2 separate regions of the Homo sapiens genome follow, and region 1 is linked to region 2. The links are contacts of gene promoters, found by promoter capture Hi-C in human tissues and cell types (Jung and others, 2019). All regions are on one chromosome and are shown on one strand. The core of a region is centred on a gene start or on the middle of the fragment in contact, and the rest is flanking DNA. Distances in the headings are between cores, read along the strand shown.

Region 1 (4,489 bases), core at 1,932-4,431, 240 kb before region 2:
CAAAACTTAGTGGCTTAAAACAACAGACATTTATTGTTATAGTCTCTGTAGGTCAGGTTTGCAGGGGCCGCTTAAGTAGGTAGTTTAGCTTTGGGTCTCTCAAGACATTGGTCAGGGCTGCAGGTGTCAGAAGGCTTAACAGAAGTTGGCAGGTCTGCCAGTCTCGGTGGCTCACACCTTTGGGAGGCCACCGAGCACTTTGGGAGGCCGAGGCAGGTGGATCATCTGAGGTTGGAAGTTCGAGACCAGCCTGACCAACATGGAGAAACCCCATCTCTACTAAAAATACAAAATTAGCCGGGCGTGGTGGCGCATGCCTATAATCCCAGCTACTCGGGAGGCTGAGGCAGGAGAATCACTGGAACCCGGCAGGCGGAGGTTGCCGTGAGCTGAGATCGCGCCATTGCACTCCAGCCTGGGCAACAAGAGCGAAACTCCGTCTCAAAAAAAAAAAGAAGTTGGCAGGTCTACTTCCAAGGCGGCACACTCGCCCTGTAGCCTCTCCATGGGACTGCTTGAGTGTCCTCACATCATGGCAGCTGGCTTATCCCACAACAGGTGATAATATAGAAGCCATAATGCCTTTCTTTCTTTCCTTTCTTTTCTTTCTTTCTTTCTTTTGACAGAGTCTCGCTGTATCACCTAGGCTGGAGTGCAATGGCGCAATCTCGACTCGCTGCAACCTCTGCCTCCCGGGTTTAAGCGGTTCTCCTGCCTCAGCCTCCCAAGTAGCTTGGGATTACAGGCACCTGCCACCACAACTGGCTAATGTTTTGTATTTTTAGTAGAGACGGGGTTTCACCATGTTGGCCAGCCTGGTCTCAAACTCCTGACCTCAGGTGATCCACCCACCTTGGCCTTCCAAAGTGCTGGGATTACAGGTGTGAGCCACTATGCCTGGCCTTGCTTTTTTGTTGTTGTTGTTGTTTGTATTTGTTTGTTTGTTTGTTTTGAGACAGGGTCCCACTCTGATGCCCAGGCTGGAGTGCAGAGGTGTGATCATAACTTTCTGCAGCCTGGAACTACTAGGCTCAAGTGATCCTCCCACCTCACCTTCCCAAGTAGCTGGGACTGCAGGCAGGCACCACCATGCCTAGCTAATTTTTTGTTTTTTTTTTTCTTGTAGAGACGGGGCACTCACTATGTTGCCAAGGCTGGTCTCAAACTCCTGGCCTCAAGCAATCCCCCTCCCTTGGCCTCCCAAAGCACTAGGATTGCAGGTGTGAGCCCAACCCCCACAATACCTTTTAAGACCCAGTCTCAGAAGTCACAAACCATCATTTCCACCATTCTATTGGTTCTAATGATTCTGTTGCTCACTTAGACCAGCCCTGCTACAATGTGGAAGGACATTACACAGGGGCACAGATGCCAGGAGCCGAGAGCAGCAAGGCTGTCTTGGAGGCCGGCGGCTGCACATGCCGAAGTGGGGGAATCAGAATAAACTCCCCCATCCGTCTCTCCTCCTGCCCTCTGGTCTTGCTGCCATTGCTCCCATTAGCTGAACCCAAGTGGAAGCCAGGGGGAAGAGAGCCCAGTGATGCAGTCTCTAGAGCCCAGCCTTCTGAGCAGAGAAGGGCAGAGTGGACTGTGGGGCAAGAGGAAACAGAAAAGCCGGCACACAGTCTCTGCATCTGGAATGGTGTCCAGTGTAATGAGGGGGACAGTCAACATTTGATGAATGTATGAATGAATTTATGGATGAGGGAGGGATAGCCTTGAATGGAGGGCAGTGGAGGGCTGTGCTTGTCGGGGTCCTGGAGCAGTTACAGAGGTGCCTGGGGAGTGAAGATGGCAGATGGTATCACTGCCTGATGGCTGAGAGCCAGAGCAGTGTCGGGTGCTGGTACCCCTCCCAGGTCAGCCTGCAGGTCAGCACGTCATCTTTCCTGACAGATTAATGAGAAGCCCCTCAAACACGTTCTGCCCCAGGACCTGGGCAGCCTCACTGGGAAGGTCTGGAGAGGCTGCTGCCCTGACCTGCACTCATAGTCACTTGACTGTGCCACATCCCACTCCTGCCATCTTCAGGGATCGGGGGAGGACTGCAAAGCATTGATTCAGCACACAGCCATTGAGCCTTCTGGGCGGGTTAGGATTCTGCTGCACATAACAGAAGCCCAGGCGGGCTGGCTCCAGCAAGGAAGAAAATGTGTTCTACAGATATCGAGGTGTCTTGTGGTGCCCACGGGCAGCCAAGTTAGACCAAGGTGCTAGAACTATAGATAAGCACGGTGCAGAGGTCCCTCCTTCCCTCCTCGCTGCTCTACCCTGCCTCCCTCTGTGTTCCCTCTGCACAGACTGCTCTTCCCCCTGCCGCATGGTAGGGAATGTGGCTAGCTATGGCTCCCAGGTTACTTCTCAGGGTTCCAGCCACTGGAGGAGTTAGGGTATGTGTGTCTCAGTGTCAAGTCCAGCTTCCTCCTCCTCTTCCTCTTCCTCCTCCTCTTCTTTCTCCTTCTCCTCTTCTTCCTCTTCCTCCTCCTCTTCCTTCTTCTGCTCCTCTTCCTCCTCCTCCTCTTCCTCCTTTTCCTTCTTCTCTTCCTCCTCCTCTTCCTTCTCTTCCTCCTCCTCTTCCTTCTCTTCCTCCTCCTCTTCCTTCTTCTCCTCTTCCTCCTCCTCCTCTTCCTTCTCTTCCTCCTCCTCTTCCTCCTCCTCCTCTTCCTGATCCTCTTCCTTCTTCTCCTCCTTTCTCCTCTTCTTCCTCCTCTTCCTCCTCCTCTTCCTCCTCCTTCCTCCTCTTCCTCCTCCTACCCCTCCTCTTCCTCCTCCTCTCCCTCCTCTTCCTCCTCCTCCTACTACTGCTACTCCTCCTCCTCCCCCTCCCCTTCCTCCTCCTCCTCTCCCTCTTCCTCTTCCTCCTTCTCCTCCTCTCCCTCCCCCCGTTCCCCACCTTCTTACTGCTCCACTTCTGGGCCAGTGCTGCCTAGTCCTGTTCTCTGCAGGAGGGAGCCCTGGAGGGGTTCTTTGAAAAGTGGAAGAGTTGGGAAAAAATGAGACAGTCTCACTGAAGGCTTTTCTGGTTGTAAATGATAGAAACACTTTGAACTGACCTAAGCCAAAGACAGGATTTCTCACAAGGAGGGCAGCAGATAGCGGTTAGGAGCATCAGCCTCAGAGCTGGCTGACTTTAGATCCTGACTCCGTCTTACAAGCTGGGAGGCCTTGCCCATCTATTTAAGTTCTTTTTGCCTCAGTTCCCTCATTTGTAAAGCGGGGTTATTAATAATACCTGTCTCATAGGGTTGTAGTAAGGTATGGGACTATAGTTTGTAGGGCACTTAGGGAGGTCGAGGCAGGTGGACCACTTGAGGTCAGGATTTGAGACCAGCCTGACCAACATGGTGAAACCCCGTCTCTAATAGAAATACAAAAAAAATTAGCCGGGCATGGATGGCGGGTGCCTGTAGTCCCAGCTACTCGGGAGGCTGAAGCAAGAGAACCGCTTGAATCTGGGAGATGGAGGTTGCATTGAGCTGAGATTGCGCCACTGCACTCCAGCCGGGCGACAGAGCAAGACTCCGTCTAAAAAAAAAAATTGTAGGGCAGAACTGTGTGGTACTTTTCCCTCACTCATTATAAGGGTCATGGCTGACACTCCTATAACCAGACACAGGGTAACAAAAAAGCAGAACAAATGTGTTTAATCAAAATTTTACGCAACATGGGAGCTTTCAGAAATGAAGACGCTCAGGTGAGGCACGGTGGCTCACACCTGTAATACCAGCACTTTGGGAGGCCGAGGCAGGCGGATCGTCTGAGGTCAGGAGTTCAAGACCAACCTGGCCAACATAGTGAAACCCTGTCTCTACTAAAAATACAAAAATTAGCTGGGCGTGGTGGCACGCGCCTGTAATCCCAGCTACTCGGGAGGCTAAGCCAGGAGAATCACTTGAACCTGGGAGACGGAGGTTGCAATGAGCTGAGATGGTGCCACTGTACTCCAGCCTGAGGGCGGGGACAGAGCAAGACTCCGTCACTAAAAAAAAAAAAGAAAAGAAAAGAAAAGAAAAGAAATGAGGACCCTTAGCCCCAGCTACCTGGGAGGCTGATACAGGAGGATTACATGAGTCCAGGAATTCAATACCAGCAAGGCCAATATAGTGAGACCCCCATCTCTTTAAAAAAAGAAAGAAATGAAGACCCCAAACCCCAGGGAAAGAGGTTTTTTTGTTTTTTTGGTTTTTTGTTTGTTAGAATTTGTTTATTTTAATTATATTTATTTATTTATTTTAAAACGGAATTTTGCTCTTGTTGCCCGGGCTGGAGTGCAGTGGCGTGATCTCGGCCCACCTCAACCTCTGCCTCCTGGGTTCACGCGATTCTCCTGCCTCAGCCTTCCGAGCAGCTGGGATTACAGACATGCACCACCATGCCTGGCTAATTTTGTATTTTCAGTAGAGATGGGGTTTCTCCATGTTGGTCAGGCTGGTCTCAAACTCCCAACCTCAGGTGATCCGCCCCCCTCTGCCTCCCAAAGTGCTGGGAT
Region 2 (4,398 bases), core at 180-2,679:
GAAGAGTTCCTTCCTCTTCATTTTCGAATTCATTTCTTAAAACTCGGGCCTTTCTCGTAATTATAGGGTTAGACAGCCCGTTATCCGTATGACAGTTTTCCAAAATAGCCAGTTACACCAACTTTGTTATTCCTTCTCACTTTTGGATGGCTTTCTTTACCTTTTTTTTTTTTTTTGAGAGGCTCTGTCGCCCAGGCTGGAGTGCAGTGGAGCGATCTCGGCTCACTGCAACCTCTGTCTCCCGGGTTCAAGCGACTCTTCTGCCTCAGCCTCCCGAGTAGCTGGGACTATAGGCGCGCGCCACCACGCCCAGCTAATTTTTGTATTTTTAGTAGAGAGGGGGTTTCACCATGTTAACTAGGCTGGTCTCGAACTCCTGACTTCGTGATCCGCTCGCCTCGGCCTCCCAAAGTGCTGGGATTACAGGCCTGAGCCACCGCGCCCGGCCCTTTCTTTTTTTTTTTTGAAACGGTCTGGCTCCGTCGCCCAGGCTGGAGTGCAGTGGCGCGACCTAGGTTCGCTGCTACCTCAGCCTCCCGCGTTCAAGCAATTCTCCCACTTCGGTCTCCCCAGTAGCTGGGATTACTGGCGCGCGCCACCACGCCCGCTTAATTTTTGTATTTTTAGTAGTGACGGGGTTTCTCCATGTTCGTCAGGCTGGTCTCGAACTCCTGACCTTAAGTGATGGCCCGCCTCGGCCTCCCTAAGTGCTGGGATTACAAGCGTGACCCACTGCGTCCGGTCGGGCCTGGCTTTTCTAAAGGAACGTATGCGTGCGGTTACGAGGAACCGTCGTTTCCCCAGCAGGGTGAGGCTGAGCGTGCACTTAACAGTCGCGAGGGCCACAGGCTCCTCTTGCAAGTAACTTAAGGTTAAGGAGCAACATCGTGGACAAATCGGCCTCGCCCAGCATTTCAGTGAGGGCTTGGTGCGAATTCCAGCCAGAGCCCTAGAAAGTATCTTGGGCAGGTCGAAATGCACCCCTCCAGCTCCCAGCCACGAGGGGACCGGCTTCCCTGTACGCAGCTCCGGCCAGAGGAGGCCGCCGCCGCCCCACCACGCCGCGGAGGGGTTTGCAGGGTCCCTTCCACGGCCTGGAGTTTTTCCTTTTCCCACGCCTGAGGAAGGCCTCGGGCGCGCGGAACAGACGGGCAGGCGGGGGGCGCACAAGCCCAGGGCACGATGGCAGCAGCGCTGGATCCGGCTGGGCGCTGCTCGGCCCCGTATCCGTCCGAGAGGACCGCCGCTGCCAGGCCTAGAGGAGACATGAAGAGACCGGGCGCAGCGCGACCCGGGAAGCTCCGCCGAGGTAGGAGAGGCGCCCGGCCAGCGGAGGGAGTTGGTCTCCCAACTCTCCGGAAGGAGGAGGAGCCGGCGCTGGAGCCGCCTTAGCCGCGGCTCCGCGGGCTGGGGGGAGGGAGAGGGGTTGAGTCAAGATGGCGGCCAAGGTGGCGAAGCAGCAGCCGCGGCGGCGGCGGCGGCTGGAGTGAGCGTCCGACTCGCCGCGCCGAACGAGGTCCCGGTGTAGGGCCGCGCGCCGTGGCCGCGTCCCACTCCTCAGGCCGGGGCGCACGTCGGCTCCCACGCTTAGCCAGCTCCCGGTGAGTAGGCCCTGGCGCCTGCAACCCCGGCCTCCGGGCTCCTGCTAGTCCGGGGGCTTCCGAGGGCTCCCGGGGCAGCAGCCGCTGGGACGGTTTCTCCGCCGGGCGGGGGGTGTCGCAGGCCTGGGCAGGTCGGGACCCGTCCTGGCCGCCTGGCCTCTTCCACTCGGCAGCCCAGGAGAGAGCCGGGCGCGGCGGGGAGCTCGGGCTGGGCTAGCGGAGGCTTATGGAGTTTGGAGGAAGAATGGGCTGTGGCCGGGCCGGGGCTGGCCCCGAGGTGTCCTGTGCGGAGGGGCGTGCGGAGCCTACAGGGCCTGCGAGGGAGAGCGGGCAGCCGGTGCCCCGGGTGGGGCCGGCGCAGGTGGCGGGCCTGGGCTCACTGAGGCGGAGTTGGTGGCCGACTTGGAAGTGTAGAAGGGGCTGCGGAGGTTGACAGCCATGGACAAGTGCGTGCAGAGTAAATTAGTTCACCTTTCTAACAGACCGCTTCAGGGTGTAATGGCGAAGGCTGGGTACTGGTGGAGATGGCAAAGATCCGAACACTATACCTTCTGCCGTTTATTGTTGGTGTTTTCTTAAGCGAAGTCCGTAAGTGCACCCCTTTTTGGGGAGAGAGGAATTTGAGAAACTGTAGTTGTGAAATCAGCCTTTATGGAGAGGAGACTGAATTCTTCAAATTAACTGGATCAGGAATAGTCATGTATTAAAGGAATGGATGGGAATAAGTGATATGGACGAAAACTATTTGCTCAGGAAGTGTCAGTTTTCTTTATGTGATGTTGCATGCTGCGGTGCCTCTTCCACAGAGTTAACCTTGGAGAGTAGTAGTATAGGTAATTCTAATCTTTGGGATTAGTATGTAAACCTGCATCAGATTTGCTTCTCTAATTATATCCTAATTATATTGAAATTTACATTCCTTGTGTGCACCCTGGTGAGGCAGTGATGGAAGGCTGAACATGGCACTGTGCAAGGAGCAACAGGCCCGGGATTTAAAAATGCCTACAAAGATTCATTCATTCGTTCAATATATCTTGATCAATAGCTGCTGATGCTGGGTCACATGTGATTGTCCTGTGGATAACTGAAGAGTTGATGGCATCGTTTAATTTTTAATAGCTTTTTAAAATGTTTTGATGTACCTTTTCATGAAGATATTTATTGGATGAACCAACTTGTACTTGCCCGGGCTCAGGAGCAGACCAATTTTAGAATGTTATTTAGACAAGGGTAACAATTACAGAAGAAGTAACCGCAAGTTACTGGAGAGAGAAATCTTGTATCTTTTTTTCTTTTTCTGTTAACATCCGGTGGAAGTTTATTTATTTGTTTTAATATTTATAGTACCCAGTTGCTTGGCCTTGCTTTAAGCACACCTGTTAATGGAAATCAAGATTAATTGTATATATGGATATAGCTATGTATAAAATGCTCACAGTAGGAACTGATTACTTACAATACTAAAATACTCTTTCCTTTTACAAAAGGCTTGCCATATGTTGAACTACTCCCCCGGAGAAAATATAATACAAAGTATCTTGATTCTTGCTCTAACTATGTGATTTTGGAACTTGATCAACCTTTCTGTGCTTCAGTTTCCTCATCTTGAATATTAGGTAAACATCTACTCTCCTAGGGTTGGCTGTTGTGAGCCTAAAGGGAGTTAATAGTTATAAAATTGTTTTAAACAGATTGAAGGGGTTATATTTCTGTGAGGTGGTAACAGCTCCCTCTGGGCTCCTGTAATGCTTTTTCTGCACATCTCTCGCGGCATTTACACTTTCTATCTTGTAGGTATTTATGTACCTATTTTATCTCTTGAGAGCAGGATAGGCCCTTCGCTGATTTTATCTTTTTTTTTTTTTTTTTTTTGAGACAGTCTTGCTCTGTCACCCAGGCTGGAGTGCAGTGGCGCAATCTCAGCTCATTGCAACCTCCGCCTCCGGGTTCAAGCAATTCTTCTGCCTCAGCCTCCCGAGTAGCTGGGACTACAGGCGCGTGCCACCATGCCTGGCTAATTTTTTTGTACTTTGAGTAGAGACGGGGTTTCACCGTGTTAGCCAGGATGGTCTCAATCTCCTGACCTCGTGATCCGCCTGCCTTGGCCTCCCAAAGTGCTGGGATTACAGGCGTGAGCCACCGTGCCTGGCTTATTTTTAATTGAATACTTGTTGGATTTAAAAAACAGTAAAATTTGTGTTTTGCCTATCCTCTTAATCAAAAAAGAATGAAATGATGGAAATTAACTTATAGGAAAGATTAGATTAGTTAATAACTTTTTTAAAGCTTTTTTTTTTTTTTTTTGGAGACAGGGTCTCTTTTGCCCAGGCTGAAATACAGTGGCTCGCTGCAGCCTTGACCTCTGGACTCAGGTGATCCTTCCACCTCAGCCTCCCAAGTCGCTGGGACTACAGGCACAGGCCACCACGCCTGGTTAATTTTTTTTTTTGTTTGTAGAGAAAGGGTTTGACCATGTTGTCTAGGCTGGTCTCGAGCTCCTGGGCTCAAGCGATCTGCCTGTCTCAGCCTCCCAAAGTGCTAGGATGATAGGGGTGAGCCACTGCACCCGGCCTTAAAAGCATTAAAAAAAATTGTGTTATGAATTGGTGAAATTTTCTTTTCTTACCTTTGTTATCTGCTGTAGAAGGCAAAGGCCTTTGGATAGACTGGGGGTTGATGTAGGTGAGTGTCAGGCTGTTTGTTTTTTAAAAAATATGTTTTGGTTATTTGGTTTTAATTGTATTCTGTGATCTATCTTAGTTGTAATTTCAAATTCTTCTTGATGCCTGGGAATGAT

What was found. Contacts are between HindIII fragments. The study calls those that stand out against the background at their distance.
Region 1: a contact is called between a fragment that was not itself captured here and the fragment with the promoter of NCOR1 in region 2, in 1 of the 25 tissues and cell types used here (adrenal gland).

The regions. Positions count from the first base shown.
Region 1 is chr17:16,454,437-16,458,925 of GRCh38, reverse strand. The region is part of intron 2 of LRRC75A (leucine rich repeat containing 75A); the gene reads left to right. The region is part of intron 3 of SNHG29 (small nucleolar RNA host gene 29); the gene reads right to left. Among named protein-coding and RNA genes, the nearest start is that of SNORD65, 15 kb to the right of the region's middle. RefSeq lists enhancers at 1,544-2,043, 2,044-2,545. The HindIII fragment of the contact is 8,128 bases long and covers 1-4,489 here.
Region 2 is chr17:16,212,565-16,216,962 of GRCh38, reverse strand. NCOR1 (nuclear receptor corepressor 1) reads left to right here and starts at 1,429. Exons shown (of 46, transcript NM_006311.4): 1 at 1,429-1,601. RefSeq lists enhancers at 1,164-1,223, 801-1,716, 1,717-2,633 and a silencer at 1,494-1,963. The HindIII fragment of the contact is 13,683 bases long and covers 1-1,875 here.